3 separate regions of the Homo sapiens genome follow, and all the other regions are linked to region 1. Evidence: promoter capture Hi-C in 16 types of primary human blood cells and fetal thymus (Javierre and others, 2016). All regions are on one chromosome and are shown on one strand. The core of a region is centred on a gene start or on the middle of the fragment in contact, and the rest is flanking DNA. Distances in the headings are between cores, read along the strand shown. Region 1 holds the start of CYRIA (CYFIP related Rac1 interactor A). Region 2 overlaps MYCNUT (MYCN upstream transcript). Region 3 has its middle 42 kb from the start of LINC01804.

Region 1 (4,125 bases), core at 637-3,136:
CATCTCTAAGTGTGTGGAAGTGAAATCTCATGCATCAAATAGTCTACTCACAAACTTGAGCTGTATTAGTAGAGACAGATGGGTGTAAAGTGAAAAGTCCTCTCATGGTCTGAAATGATAGTGTTTTATGGGGATGAATGGTGTTTGTGGCTGATTAGTCCTCACTCTTCCCAAAACCTGGCCAAACTCAAGGTGGACAGATTAAGCCAGAAAATTTTAGGGGTGTGTGTATGTGTGTGTGTGTGTGTGTGTGTGTGTGTGTGTGTGTGTAGTAGACATGGTTTACCTCATGGCAAGAAGGCTTTTCTCATAGAGCCACTCACAGATAAAACACCTTTGCCAGACGGCTGCGGTGGTTCACGCTTGTAATCCCAGCACTTTGGGAGGCCAAAGTGGGTGGATCACGAGGTCAAGAGTTCAAGACTAGCCTGACCAAGATGGTGAAACCCCGTCTCTACTAAAAATACAAAAATTAGCCGGATGTGGTGGCAGGCGCCTGTAGTCCCAGCTACTCTGGAGGCTGAGGCAGGAGAATTGCTTGAACCCCGGGGGATGGAGGTTGCAGTGAGCCGAGATCACACCACTCCACTCCAGCCTGAGCTACAGAGTGAGACTCTGTCTCAAAAAACAAAAACAAAAAAAACACCTTTGCAGGAATTGACAACAGAGGCTGGTCTAGGGCATGGGGAAAACTCAAAAAGAGAACGGGAAAGTGTTTCTTCTGGTCCTAAGGACCCCTTCCAAGTGGGAAAATATTTCACTCTAACTAGACAGTGCCTTCCTGCCCTCTGTGAATTTTTGCCAAAAAACAGACCAAGAGCCTCTGTGGGCAGTTCAGGAGAGCCTTTCAGAGTGCAAAGGAAGCTTGGGCAACAAGTCCTCCCAGGGGAAACACCCTGGATCTCAGAAAGGAGAGGGGCCTGAACACCTTCTCCTGATGCTTCCCGCCTCCTCTGATCCCAGCCCACACAGGGCCCCAACCCATGCAGCTTCGGGCACGTACCTTGGCACACTATGGGGATTTAACACATGTTTCATGATGTTCTGGCTGATGGACTGGGAAAGGAAGCACCCGAAGCCGGGGTCCCCAGGAGCTCTCCCTCCCCTCAACAGGAGCTCTGACTCACAACCTGTTTGGCACTGCTGAGTCCTCTCCGGTTTCCTGAATCTCCCTCTCTCTAATGCAAAAAGCCTCCATGGCAGATGTTTTAGAACAATGATCACGTCAATGACGCTGTAACCCACTACTTTCTTTTTGCATCATAGAATTTTTTAAGTGTTTTTGCAGACTTACTCTTTAAGGTTAATTACATGTTTTGGATTGAGCCTTTGGGAAGACTTTACAGTGGTCCTATCGGATAACTGCGGGCCCCAAGGCTGGAGATCTGTTAATAGGGTGGGCAGAAAGGGACTGGGAGCGAGACTGGGTTCAGAATCTCAAGTAATTTGGAGTGTGCCTAGGGATTGGGATGATTTGGCTGGGCATTAATTTGAAGGTGAATATGCGTCTAGAGATTGCGGGGATTTCTTTTTCTTGGAGGGCAACCGTGGGTGTGGAGGAATTTGGTGTGCAGAAACAGAAAGGTCTGGTTCGGGCTTCCTCTGGGAAGGCAAGGCCAAGTGGCCAAGGCTGAGAAGGGGCAGGGGCGACCGTGCTGGGGCGGGTCCGCACCAGCTCCTGGGAGCAGAGAGCAGAGCCGGGCAAAGAGATGGGGTTGTCCAGGCTAGGGTGAGGACGCGGCCGGTGACAGCGCGGGTGGGGATCCCCCGGGGCCGGGGCGGGGCGGCTGCCGCGAGCCGGGCTGGGGGCGGGGCGGGGCGGGGAGGGACGGGGAGGGGCGGGGCGGGGCTCCGAGGCCGTCTCGCAGGCTGCGGCGGCCGCGGGAGAGGCGTACTCGGCGGCGGCGGAGCGGGCGGCAGAGCAGGGCGGCGGCGACTCGGTGAGCGCGGCGCGGCTGGGGGCGCGGCAGGGGCGCGGGCGGGGGTCTGCGGGCGCGGGGCTCGGCCTGCACGGGGCACCGCGGGGCACCGCGAGGCGGGGCGGGCGCCTCCCTGCCATCCTTCTCCTCCCGGACGCCCCTGCAGCCTTTGGGAGGGAGGGAGAGCGGAGGACACCGTCCGGGAGCCCTTCTCTAGCGATCGCCGGACAGAGGTCCGGCTTTGTGCCCCGTTGCCCTCTTTCTGAGAGGGCTGCCTCCTGATTGTGTTCCTTTCCCAGACCACCCTCCCTCGTCCCTCACTCACTTACCCCCCACCCCAGGTATCATAAGCTCCATTCTTGCAGGGGACCCCTAACACTCCCCTTCCCACCACCCGAGGCCCCGGGGTCCTGGGTACTCTCTACAGCCCCAAAGGGAGGGATGGCCCCCTCCCCAGCCCCTGCACACCTGGACCCTTCTGTTGCCACCTGCCACAGACGTTCTTAGCCAGCCAGAAAGCTGCTGTGCCTAGGACCCAGCACACCTTGCCGTCACCCTCTCTCCTCCCCCAGAACCCAGAACCCCAGTTTGGCAAAAGGCACTTTTCCAATACTGAGCTTTGGGAACAATTTGACCCACTTCCCAAAATGCTGGTCCCAGGCCAGCCATGCTTTTTGGTGGAGACACCTGTCTTGTCTGCCAGGAGACATTCTCTGTCAAAATGGGCCAGCCCGTCCCTGGGTCCTCCTCCAAGCTGCTCCTACTCGCTAGCCAGTGTCCCCAGAGACCAGGGCCAAGATCTTTGTCATTTAAGGCCTCCAAAGCTATTTCCCCACGCATCCCCAGAATTCCCCCAGCCACTGTTTTGGGGGTGCCAGGTCCAGAACTGATGGAGCAATCTTTCTGTGTCCAGGGCCTGATGTCCTCTCCCACACCCTTGTTTACCCGCCTGCTCCCCAGGGAACCCAAGACAGGGTCATGGGGCTGGAGTTTAGGGCCCTGATCTCCCCTGAAGCTCTGTGACCCTCCTTTTCTCCCTGTTAGAAACTTTCCTCTCTGTCACCAGTCACTATCTCCTCTGGATGGGACCTGGGCCATCTGCACAGTGTCGAGTCCCCAGGGCACAGAATGCTGATCTGGGACCCTGGAAGGCTGGGACTTGTGCTGGGGCAGCAGGAGGAGAGTGGCTGCTAGCCAGGTCTGGGCTTGGGTACCAGAGTTCTTTGGGTGGATCATTGTCGGCTTTCACTGATCTCTGGTTGGGGTTCGAGGGCTTGCTTTGCAGTGGAGACAGGAGGCAGAGCAGGGGCTGTTTTTCCTGCGTGCTTCTGACTGTCTTGTGTTGCTATGGTGACAGTTTTGCCTGTCTTCCTCCTTCTGACTCTTCTGGGAGCTGGTTTTTATTGGTCCGTTGTCCTGTCTTTCATGGCTCTAATTTCTCCTTTCTACTTGCTCTGAAATAAACAGTCATAAACATGGGCGCTGGGCCCAGGCTGGGGGCTGGCAGAACTTCACCTCCTGCTGGCCCTGGGTTCCTGTGAGGGGAGAGTGGGAAAGCGAGGTGGAAACAGACCTGCCCACATTCCCTCCTGCCTCTGGGCTCTGGCTCTGGGAAGGGGGCAGCAGCAGCATCACGGGCTTGGGCACATAGTGGGCGCATACTGCCTCAGTGCTAAAAATAGATACCAAATGTGGCAAAGGACCTCACTGGTGTTATTTCCTTTCATCTTCACAATAGCCCCATGGGGCAGGGGCTCTTTCCACTTTGCAGATGAGGAAACTAAGCTCAGAGCAAGTGAGTTATTTCCCTAAGGTCACATTGATTTGAGCACACAGTCAGCCCTCAGTTTTGGTTCAATGAATGGAAAAGTGATGAAGCTGACATACACGCATCTCTGTTGGGCTCCCTGGTCCTGTCCGAGGGATCACAGGGACTTCCTTAGTCCAGCTGCCTAAACCCACACTATAGGAGGCTCTTTAGAAGGTGTCTCCACTTTTCCTGTCCCTGCTGGACTACTGTGGAGGGAGCTGCCAGGAAGCTGTCTGGAGTGTCCCAAGTGTACCCTTGACCTGAACTGTTGAGGACCCCAGCTGAGAGCAGAGCAAAGCCACTTGTGACTTCCTGTTTTTACTCAGCACCAAGAAGAATTCAGTTTGCATTTGCTCCCAGGCCTAGATGCAACTAGATAAGTCAGGGACCCAGAGT
Region 2 (4,278 bases), core at 1,424-3,923, 730 kb after region 1:
TAGTAGATGGCTGATCTCACCCACTGATTCTTGCTAATTTCATTTTCCTATAATGCTGGATACATTCCTGTAGCCCCATGGACGGCCCGAGCTACCTCAATATCTGAGTGGAATTGCTAGAATCTGCCTGCTGGCCCTTTCAGTTTCCTTGGACTCAGATAACAATCACTGATAAATATCAGTGATTCTATCTGCTCATTTCCAGAAGCTGCTACTTCTGGCCTAGAAAGGCTTTTCCTTTCATTTCTGCTTATTCAAATTCTTTCCTCAAAGTTCAGCTGGAGACTGTCCTGGAAGGAATCTCGTCCTCCCTTCCCCTAACCCTACCCATTCTCTGCCCCAAATCTCCATTAATCTTATACTGCTTGCCGCCAACAAGGGGGTTCTTTTTTAATTTTTATTATTATTTTTAACTCTTGTCTCCCAGGCTGCAGTGCAGTGGTGCAGTCTCTGCTCACTGCAACCTCCTCCTCCCAGGTTCAAGCGATTCTCGTGCCTCAGCCTCCTGAGTAGCTGGGATTACAGGTGTGTGCCACCACGCCCGGCTAATTTTTGTATTTTTAGCTTTCTCCATGTTGGACAGGCTTGTCTCGAACTCCTGACCTCAGGCGACCTCACGCCTCGGCCTCTCAAAGAGCTGGGATTACAGGCGTGAGCCACCGTGCCCGGCCATGGGGGTTCTTTATCAGATTCCTGTGTGTGTGTGCGACTCCCCTAACAGGATGAGCAGTTCCTGAGTGCAGCACCCTTTCCCATGTTGCCTTTCCATCTTCTACAGCATCTGGTGCAGCGAATGCTGGAAAGAACAGCTCTGACACCAGACATGACAGCGAGTTCTGCTATGTTGGATAGTCCAACTTTTCTGAGGCTTTATTTCTCCATCTTTCTTTCTTTCTTTCTTTTTTTTCTTTTTTTTGAGAGAATCTCACTCTGTTGCCCAGGCTGGAGTGCAGTGGCACCATCTCGGCTCACTGCAACCCCCGCCTACCGGGTTCAAGCGATTCTTGTGCCTTAGCATCGTAAGTAGCTGGGATTACAGGCTCGAGCCACCGTGCCCAGCTAATTTTTTTTTTTGTATTTTTAGTAGAAAAGGGGCTTCACCATGTTGGCTTGGCTGGTCTCAAACTCCTGGCCTCAAGTGATCCATCCGCCTCGGCCTCCCAAAGTGCTGAGATGACAGGCATGAGCCACCACACCCGGCCATTTTTTCATCTTTCTTTTAGTATCATGTGAGGATTACACAAAGTAGCCATCTGGCTTATAATGGATGTCCAGTAAACGTTCCCTCCCTTCCTTCTAGTCCCAGCCCTCCTGCAGGGGCTCCATGTACCCCGCAGCAATAGACCATAGCATGTGTGTCCTGGGGGAGCCTGCAGAAAATGTCTCTTTGTTTTAATGGGACTGTTGAATCATTCTTTCTTCAACTGGAAATCTCTCTGGGCCACACCCCTTTACTCTTCATGGCTTGTCCGTAATCAAGTAACTTTAGGCTTGAAAGAAGGTACTGCAGAGTCAAGGTAGTATAAGGTAGTCCTAGTAAGAACACAGGGTCACCCGGGGAGAGGACTGGAGTTCTTCAAGCTTAGAATTGTGTCTTACTTCTTGAGGAATTTTAGATCGGTCCATTAACTTCTCCTGGTTCATAATATCGGAATAATGAGCCCTATCCCTGCTTTTATTCCATAAGGGAAAGATATCTGTAGGGCAGTGGGCTTAGATTCAGAAATGAAGTTTGATAACCTGGTTCTATTATTTCTATATGATCTTGGGCATGTCCATTTCCAACAGCCTCAGTTTTCTTACCTACGAATAGGGATAATAATATTCTTACTGCCACAGAGAAGATAGGAAATCTACAATCAAAGTGGGGCCATGTATGTTACCTTGCTGTATATTATAAGCTCTAAGAAATTGTAGAGGAAAAAGGCTTTATTCTGTGGGGCAGGAGCTTGAAAAATGGTAAAACCTCTACACATGAACAGTGTGGGATCATGTATGGAGTTCCTAAAACAAGGCTGTTTGGGATGGACACGTTTGAATCCTCTTACAATGCTTATAATGGTCATATTTCCTGGTAAGTGGCATCAAATCCAAAAACCTGTCAAAGGGACAGATGGCATTCTTAGCACAAAAGAGGAAACCAATTAGAAGTTAAAATACAGAAAAATGTGAACTTGTAAATGCTAACAAATTGTTTCAATGTGGAGGACTGTGTTGTTTTCCCTGACACTGGCCAAGGAAGGTCTCTTTCTGGTCCAGCTATGTTCACAGGGCACTGACTATTGGAGTCTGAAAGAAACCTTATGGACTCTCTCTCCTAACTGTCTTGATTTCAAGCTTGCATACCTAGCTCGAGTTGTTGGGCAGATGCTGCTGATTGCACCATGTCACTTTTACAGTGACAGACTGTGTCTTTGCAGCTCAGAAATGAGCTCTGAACAGTAGGCTTTAGGAAGCAATTTCTAAATACAAGCATTCATTTAGTCCATCAACAAACACTTGTATATGACTATATATAACTATAACTTCTGCTTGCAAGGCACTTATAAGCCACACAGAAAAATCCAATGAAACTTATTGTGTGCTACAATTAAGGATGGCCCAGAGGAAAGAGACTCCACCCCTCCCTGGGGGAGTGGAACATGGTTTCACAGACTGGGAGGGACATTTGAGCTACAGGATGAGAAACAGTTTGCCCGGGACACAAGGGCGGATAGGATTGTATTAGTCAGGATGGGTGAGAGTATGCTGTAGTAACAAACAACCCTCAAATCACAGCGGCTTAATGCAACAAAGCCTTAGTTTTTGCTCTTGTTACACGTTACAGCCTTCTTGTTAAAAGAGCAGCCCCTCGTGAAAGAGGGAAAACAGCCAGAAGGAACAAACCAAATCAAGCATGCAGCTGTTACACTCTATGCTAAAACCCCCCAATGGATCAAGGTGGCCCCAGTTGGATAGAATGGTTTGTTTGGAGGGAAAAGACCAAGAGCATGGGGTAAGAAAGCTTCATAAACTGGAGGTGCTGAAAGTAAGTCTAGAGAAAAAAGCAGGGTCTTATTTTTGTTATTTGTTAAATAACCTTTTAAATACTAAGTCTTAATAGTGCAAATTTAATGGATTTTTATTATAATTATGATTTAGAGCAAACTGTTGAAGATATTCCTTTTTTTTTTTTTTTTTTTGAGATGGAGTCTTTCTCTGTCACCCAGGCTGGAGTGCAGTGGCACAATCTTGGCTCACGGCAACCTCCATCTCCCCTGTTCAAGTGATTCTTGTGCCTCAGCCTCCTGAGTAGCTGGGATTACAGGCATGCACCACCACACCCAGCTAATTTTTTTTTTTTTTTTGTATTTTTAGTAAATATGGCATTTCACTAGGCTGGCCAGGCTAGTCTCACACTCCTGACCTTAAATGATCCTCTGGTCTGGGCCTCCCAAAGTGCTGGGATTACAGGTGTGAGCCACTGCTCCCAGCCTGTTGAAGATATTCTAATTAATCCTAAATTAGTCCTGCAAGTTGTTTCATGAAAAAAGTTTTCTATATTAAAATACACATAGGTTTAAATAAAAAACGAGAGAGAGAAGTCTTGAAGAGAATGGTGTCTGTAGCTACAGCTGATCGGAATGAAGTCGTTCAAGGATAGAAGCTTAGACTTCACTTCGAAATGCTTCCTCTGAACTGGCTGCCATGGAGTCACCTGTGCCCCCAAGCACAATCTCCTCAAAGGCAATGGCAGCCATTACTAGGCCTTTTTATTTTTCATGATGCATAGTTGTACCTGTCACAAAGGAGGTGCTCAAAAAATATTTTGTGGAATGAATGGACAGATTTCTCTCTGTTCTCCCAAAACAAGGCTTATGTCTCTATGTACATAAGGAGAATGTCAGGGCTGGGTGCCGTGGCTCATGCCTGTAATCCCAGCACTTTGGGAGGCTGAGACAAGTGGATCACTTGAGGTCAGGAGTTCGAGACCAGCCTAACAAACGTGGTGAAACCCCATCTCTACTAAAAATACAAAAACTAGTGGGGCTTGGTGGTGGGTGCCTGTAATCTCAGCTACTATTTTATATATATATATATATATATATATATATATAAAGAGAATGTCAGGACCAGCAATCCATAGAAAACTGAGACAGCAGACTTGTAGTTTTCAAACTTGCTTGCAGCTACAAAACTTTTTATTTAAAAAATGCTAACTAAATATCTTTTACACTAAGGTCAATTTTTTATTTTTTTAAAATTTTTTTGAGACGGAGTCTTGTTCTGTTGCCCAGG
Region 3 (4,291 bases), core at 233-2,732, 930 kb after region 1:
ATTTGCTCCTGCAGAGACTACCCAGGGTGCTATATTAAGAATGCTAGATAAGAATGCCTGCTCACTACTTGGAGTGGTGGAGGGAGCAGAGGTGTCAAGCCTGGTCTCCAGTCGCCTTCCTTTCTGCTCTCACGCACTGCAGAGCCTCAGGCATGTAGAATACTTACATCCCCTGATCCCCAGTCTTCAATTTTGAAAAACGGGGGCTAATAATGCCTGGTCTGTAGAGTTGTGTAGTCATGTCTAGCCCAGGGTCTGACACATGGCAAATGCTCAGTAATGCTTGTGGCACTGTGACAATGAGCTTTCTGAGCCAGAAAGGGGCTCTCTGAGCTGATGGGGAATGATCAGAGAGTAACTAGACTGCTCCTCAGGGATGATAAACATGTAAAAGCCACCAGCAACTTCTTTCCCAGCCATGTGCAAGAAGCCCAGCTTCTTGCTGGTCAGAGGTTTCTTCACCAAGGGCTCAGACTGGAAACAGGCTAAGGTCATGCTTGGGACCTGGACGGAGTTGTCGCCTCCTGCTTGTGGGGAGAAGCTGCGATCCAACACCCAGCCATTGCTGTAGAGTAATTTCCCTCCACCTTCTGGGAAATGAAAAAGCAGCCAGATGCATGCTTTAAAAATAAACCATGCAAGAGAAAGAAGAATATCATGTGTTTGCTTCCCAAGCTGGTTTGAAATATTTGAAACGCAGAGAGACTCAAATCTGTCAGGAATCAGCAGAGCTCTGAGGTTTGTTTCAACATTTGGAGTGAGAAACAAAGGGATTAGAATCTGTTCTTTAAAGCTTCTATGCAGCATTTGGGATTGCCATAACAATAGGCATGTTTTGCCCTCAAAAGAGAAAGTCAGACCACGCTCCATGTACAATAACAGGATCGCTAATTTGGACCCCGCCAGCAAAATATTTGAAATCACTCAGACAAGGCTCTTCAATCATTTACTTCACAATGATTATGAAGACAGGGTTTGTTCTGTGGCCAAGTGAAAAGAGGTTTTTTAAAACACATATAGCTGCGTGGTTTATATCAACCAATCTGGTGCCAGACGGCCTGAGTCTGGGCCCCGGCTCCCCCACTCATAACTATGTGACCTTGGACAAGTGACTTAACCCCATCGGACCTCTGCAAGCCTCTCTGAAGATTAAATAAGCAAATATTTGCAGAGCATGAAGTCTGACTCATAGTAAGTGCTATGAAAGTGTTTGTAAAATAATAAATTATGTTAAAATGAAGGGTGGAGAATCTTCAGCATGTTTGATGTTTTTTCTTGCTTTAACTGGACTCCTTCCATTTCGGTCTTATCAAATCATTACGATAGATGCCTAAAGAATCTCTCAAGTCTAAGAAGAAGGTGTTATGAATTAAGTCTATAGCTCAAACTTTTTTCCTCCCTGTCTTCCCTGTTGATAAAATTTGGGGAGGGAATCTCTAATTTTTAAAATGTAGGTTTTTCAGAGTCCAGACATAAAGGTTCCAATCGAGCAAGTTTTATCATCAGACAAGTTTGGGAACCACTAACTCAAATGGAATTCCTTCCCAGTTAGTAGGAATAATTGGGTTTGGTTGTCTCTGCTTTTTTCAGTGCCAGGATTTCGTTTCTCTTTCTCTCATCCAAGCGTCCAATACGAAAAGAAATTGGACTTTTATGCCCCAAAACTTCCCCTAGGGATGCAAGGCAGGAGGCCCAGGAGAGGTTAGATCATAGAGCTTTTATTTCAAACGGGAGCTCCATTCAAATAAAACCGCACACCGGCCGGGCGCGGTGGCTCATGCCTGTAATCCCAGCATTTTGGGAGGCCAAGGCGGGCAGATCACAAGGTCAGGAGCTTGAGACCACCCTGGCTAATATGGTGAAACCCCATCTCTACTAAAAACACAAAAAAATTAGCCGGGCGTGGTGGCACATGCCTGTAGTCCCAGCTACTCGGGAGGCTGAGGCAGGAGAATTGCTTGAACCCAGGAGGCGGAGGTTGCGGTGAGCCAAGATCGCACTCCAGCCTGGATGACTGAGCCAGACGCCATCTCAAAAACAATAACAACAACAAAAACCTCACACCATTGCAGCTGCACCTAAGTGAGGCTTCAAGTCAGCCCAAGTAGTTATATCAGAAGGAATGGGGGAAAGATGTTGATAAGCTCAGGTAAGATGCCTCAGAAGCTTTTGAGTTTTTAATTTTTTTAAATCTAAGACATTCCTTAAAGGAAGATGCATATTTGGGTCATAGTGGGTTGGAAAAGATGAAGAAAGATCTTTTGGATTTTGAAGCCCTGGCTTGTACCAGGGAGAGGGAGAGGCCAGCCTCAAGAGATACACTGGGCTCGTTTGGAGACACAGGGCCCGGCCCCACCCCATCTCTAGAACCCTCACCATGATAAGTTCCCATCTGTAAAGTGGAGGTGATGATAATGCCAGTCTCACTATGATTCAACACCAGTGGGGGCTGCAGATGCTGGAAGTTTCAAATCGTATTGGGAATGACATCACACAGATGGCTCCTGGAACCAGGCCACGTGGATAAGCCGCCCAAATGGACAGGCAGTAGTGATCTTCCTCTGGCATAATGAGAAAGGGGCTCAGTGATGGGAAGGTAATTTAGTCCCTGGACCAGCTGAGCTGGGCTGGTAGAAACCTTCCTTCCTCTTTGGAAACTGGAAGTGAGAGGCAGGCAGCTGGTAGGTCTCCCAAGAGGCGTGAAACCTAGTAGAGTGGGTTATTTATGCAAATTACAGAGAAACCCCATGTTATAAGATTACGTCTCCTGAGCTGTTTCTTTTCTGTCCTTGTTGGAGAAGCTGAGATGGACTCAATTCAGTTTCTTCATTCATTCATCCATCCATTCATTCCCTCTCCAACACAATACCTGCTATGTAACAGATATTGTGCAGGGAAACAGAAATAAATCTGACCCTAATTCTGGATCTCCAGAGATCTAATGGAGGGAACCCAGCTTAAGCTTAAACCTGTGATTCAGGACAATAAAGTGAAAGGTGTCTGTTGGTGGAGGGCCTTACAGTACTCCGGGGGCTGCAGGGAAAGAGACAGGGAAGGTTGTCTGAAGCAAGGGGCAACTAAACTAGGTTGATAAACAGGGAAAAGCAGAGGAAGGAGGTTCCAGTCTGAGAAAATACATTGATCAAAGGCAAAGGGCTGTGAGGGTCAGGGGTCAGAATACAAAGCTCTAGTGCTGGAGGGGAGTGCCTAGAATTTAGGGAGCACCTGCTAAGGGGAAGCCCAAACACTTCCCAGAACTCCACCTTGGAAGTGACAGCTTCCAAAATCTGCTTCCCCAAATGGCAAAGAAGCACTAAGGCTAATGTTAGCTTCTCCATGTAATCTCCTAGTCCTTGGCACGCTCCTCCATCCTGCCACTTGCGCCTAGCAGAGGGCTGCCTAGAGTGAGCACTCAGTGACGACAGAGAAAGGAACACACATAAAATTCTGCAAAACTCAAATGCAAGAATAAGTGTGAAATGCATTATAAACCGTAAGGAGCTGTAGAACTGTGAGAAATTGTCACCAATAACGATTGCGTTTCTATCCAACTGCTTTGCAGGGGCTGGCACTCCAGAGATGAGGAACAGCCCTGTCCTCAGGGAACCCAGAAGAGTCAACCAGGGATCCCGGGGCTGCCTGGCCAATGCTCTGACAAGATGAAAGGTTCTTGGAAGAGGTGAAACCTGTGCTAACTCCAAGGGCCCACAGGAGTCAGGCAGGTGAGGAACTGGGGTATGGTGTCCCAGACTGGGAACAATCCCAGCAGGTAACAGAAGGCTGATGGCCCAAGAAGGACATGGGTAAGACAGGCTGGAGGGGCATCCACCAGAGGTGATAGCCTGAGGGGCATCACTTGGATTTCAGTCTCAAGGCAAGCTCAAGTGCTGGGAGAGAACATGGCCACTTTTGTGTTTTGCAGCAGAGCTTATCTAGGGGGACACACGTATGCCATGAAATTAATCCCTTCAGCCCTTGAGGCAGTGGGAGAGTTGGGCAGCTCCTACAGTTGCTGCTGGGTTGCTTCCCCCAGACCACCTTGGAGAAGCATGGGATCAGGGCAATCCCTCCAGCAGCTGGGAAGCAGGAGGCTGTGCTACCCGGGGCCATGGCTCACACCTTGGCACCAAGGAGGTGCCACTAAATACAGATGATGTGAATAATACTGGGATGATTGTGAGCAGCTCCTATGCAACCCCCAGAGGAGGCTTACCCGACCCTGATGCTCAGCACAGTCTTCACAGGACTTTTCAACTCTGCCTTGCTGCATTCCTGATTGCATTTCTTTCCT

What was found. The method cuts DNA at HindIII sites, captures the fragments that hold promoters and counts their contacts. A CHiCAGO score of 5 or more calls a contact.
Region 2: a contact is called between a fragment that was not itself captured here and the fragment with the promoter of CYRIA in region 1, in 2 of 17 cell types (fetal thymus and naive CD8 T cells). The highest score is 5.3, in fetal thymus.
Region 3: a contact is called between a fragment that was not itself captured here and the fragment with the promoter of CYRIA in region 1, in 1 of 17 cell types (endothelial precursors). The highest score is 5.8, in endothelial precursors.

The regions. Positions count from the first base shown.
Region 1 is chr2:16,663,595-16,667,719 of GRCh38, reverse strand. CYRIA (CYFIP related Rac1 interactor A) reads left to right here and starts at 1,886. Exons shown (of 12, transcript NM_030797.4): 1 at 1,886-1,940. RefSeq lists silencers at 1,680-1,849, 1,920-1,969. The HindIII fragment of the contact is 7,241 bases long and covers 867-4,125 here.
Region 2 is chr2:15,929,514-15,933,791 of GRCh38, reverse strand. All of the region lies in intron 2 of MYCNUT (MYCN upstream transcript), which reads right to left. Among named protein-coding and RNA genes, the nearest start is that of MYCN, 8.9 kb to the left of the region's middle. The HindIII fragment of the contact is 667 bases long and covers 2,340-3,006 here.
Region 3 is chr2:15,730,815-15,735,105 of GRCh38, reverse strand. No RefSeq gene overlaps it. Among named protein-coding and RNA genes, the nearest start is that of LINC01804, 42 kb to the right of the region's middle. RefSeq lists a silencer at 2,760-2,819. The HindIII fragment of the contact is 1,373 bases long and covers 796-2,168 here.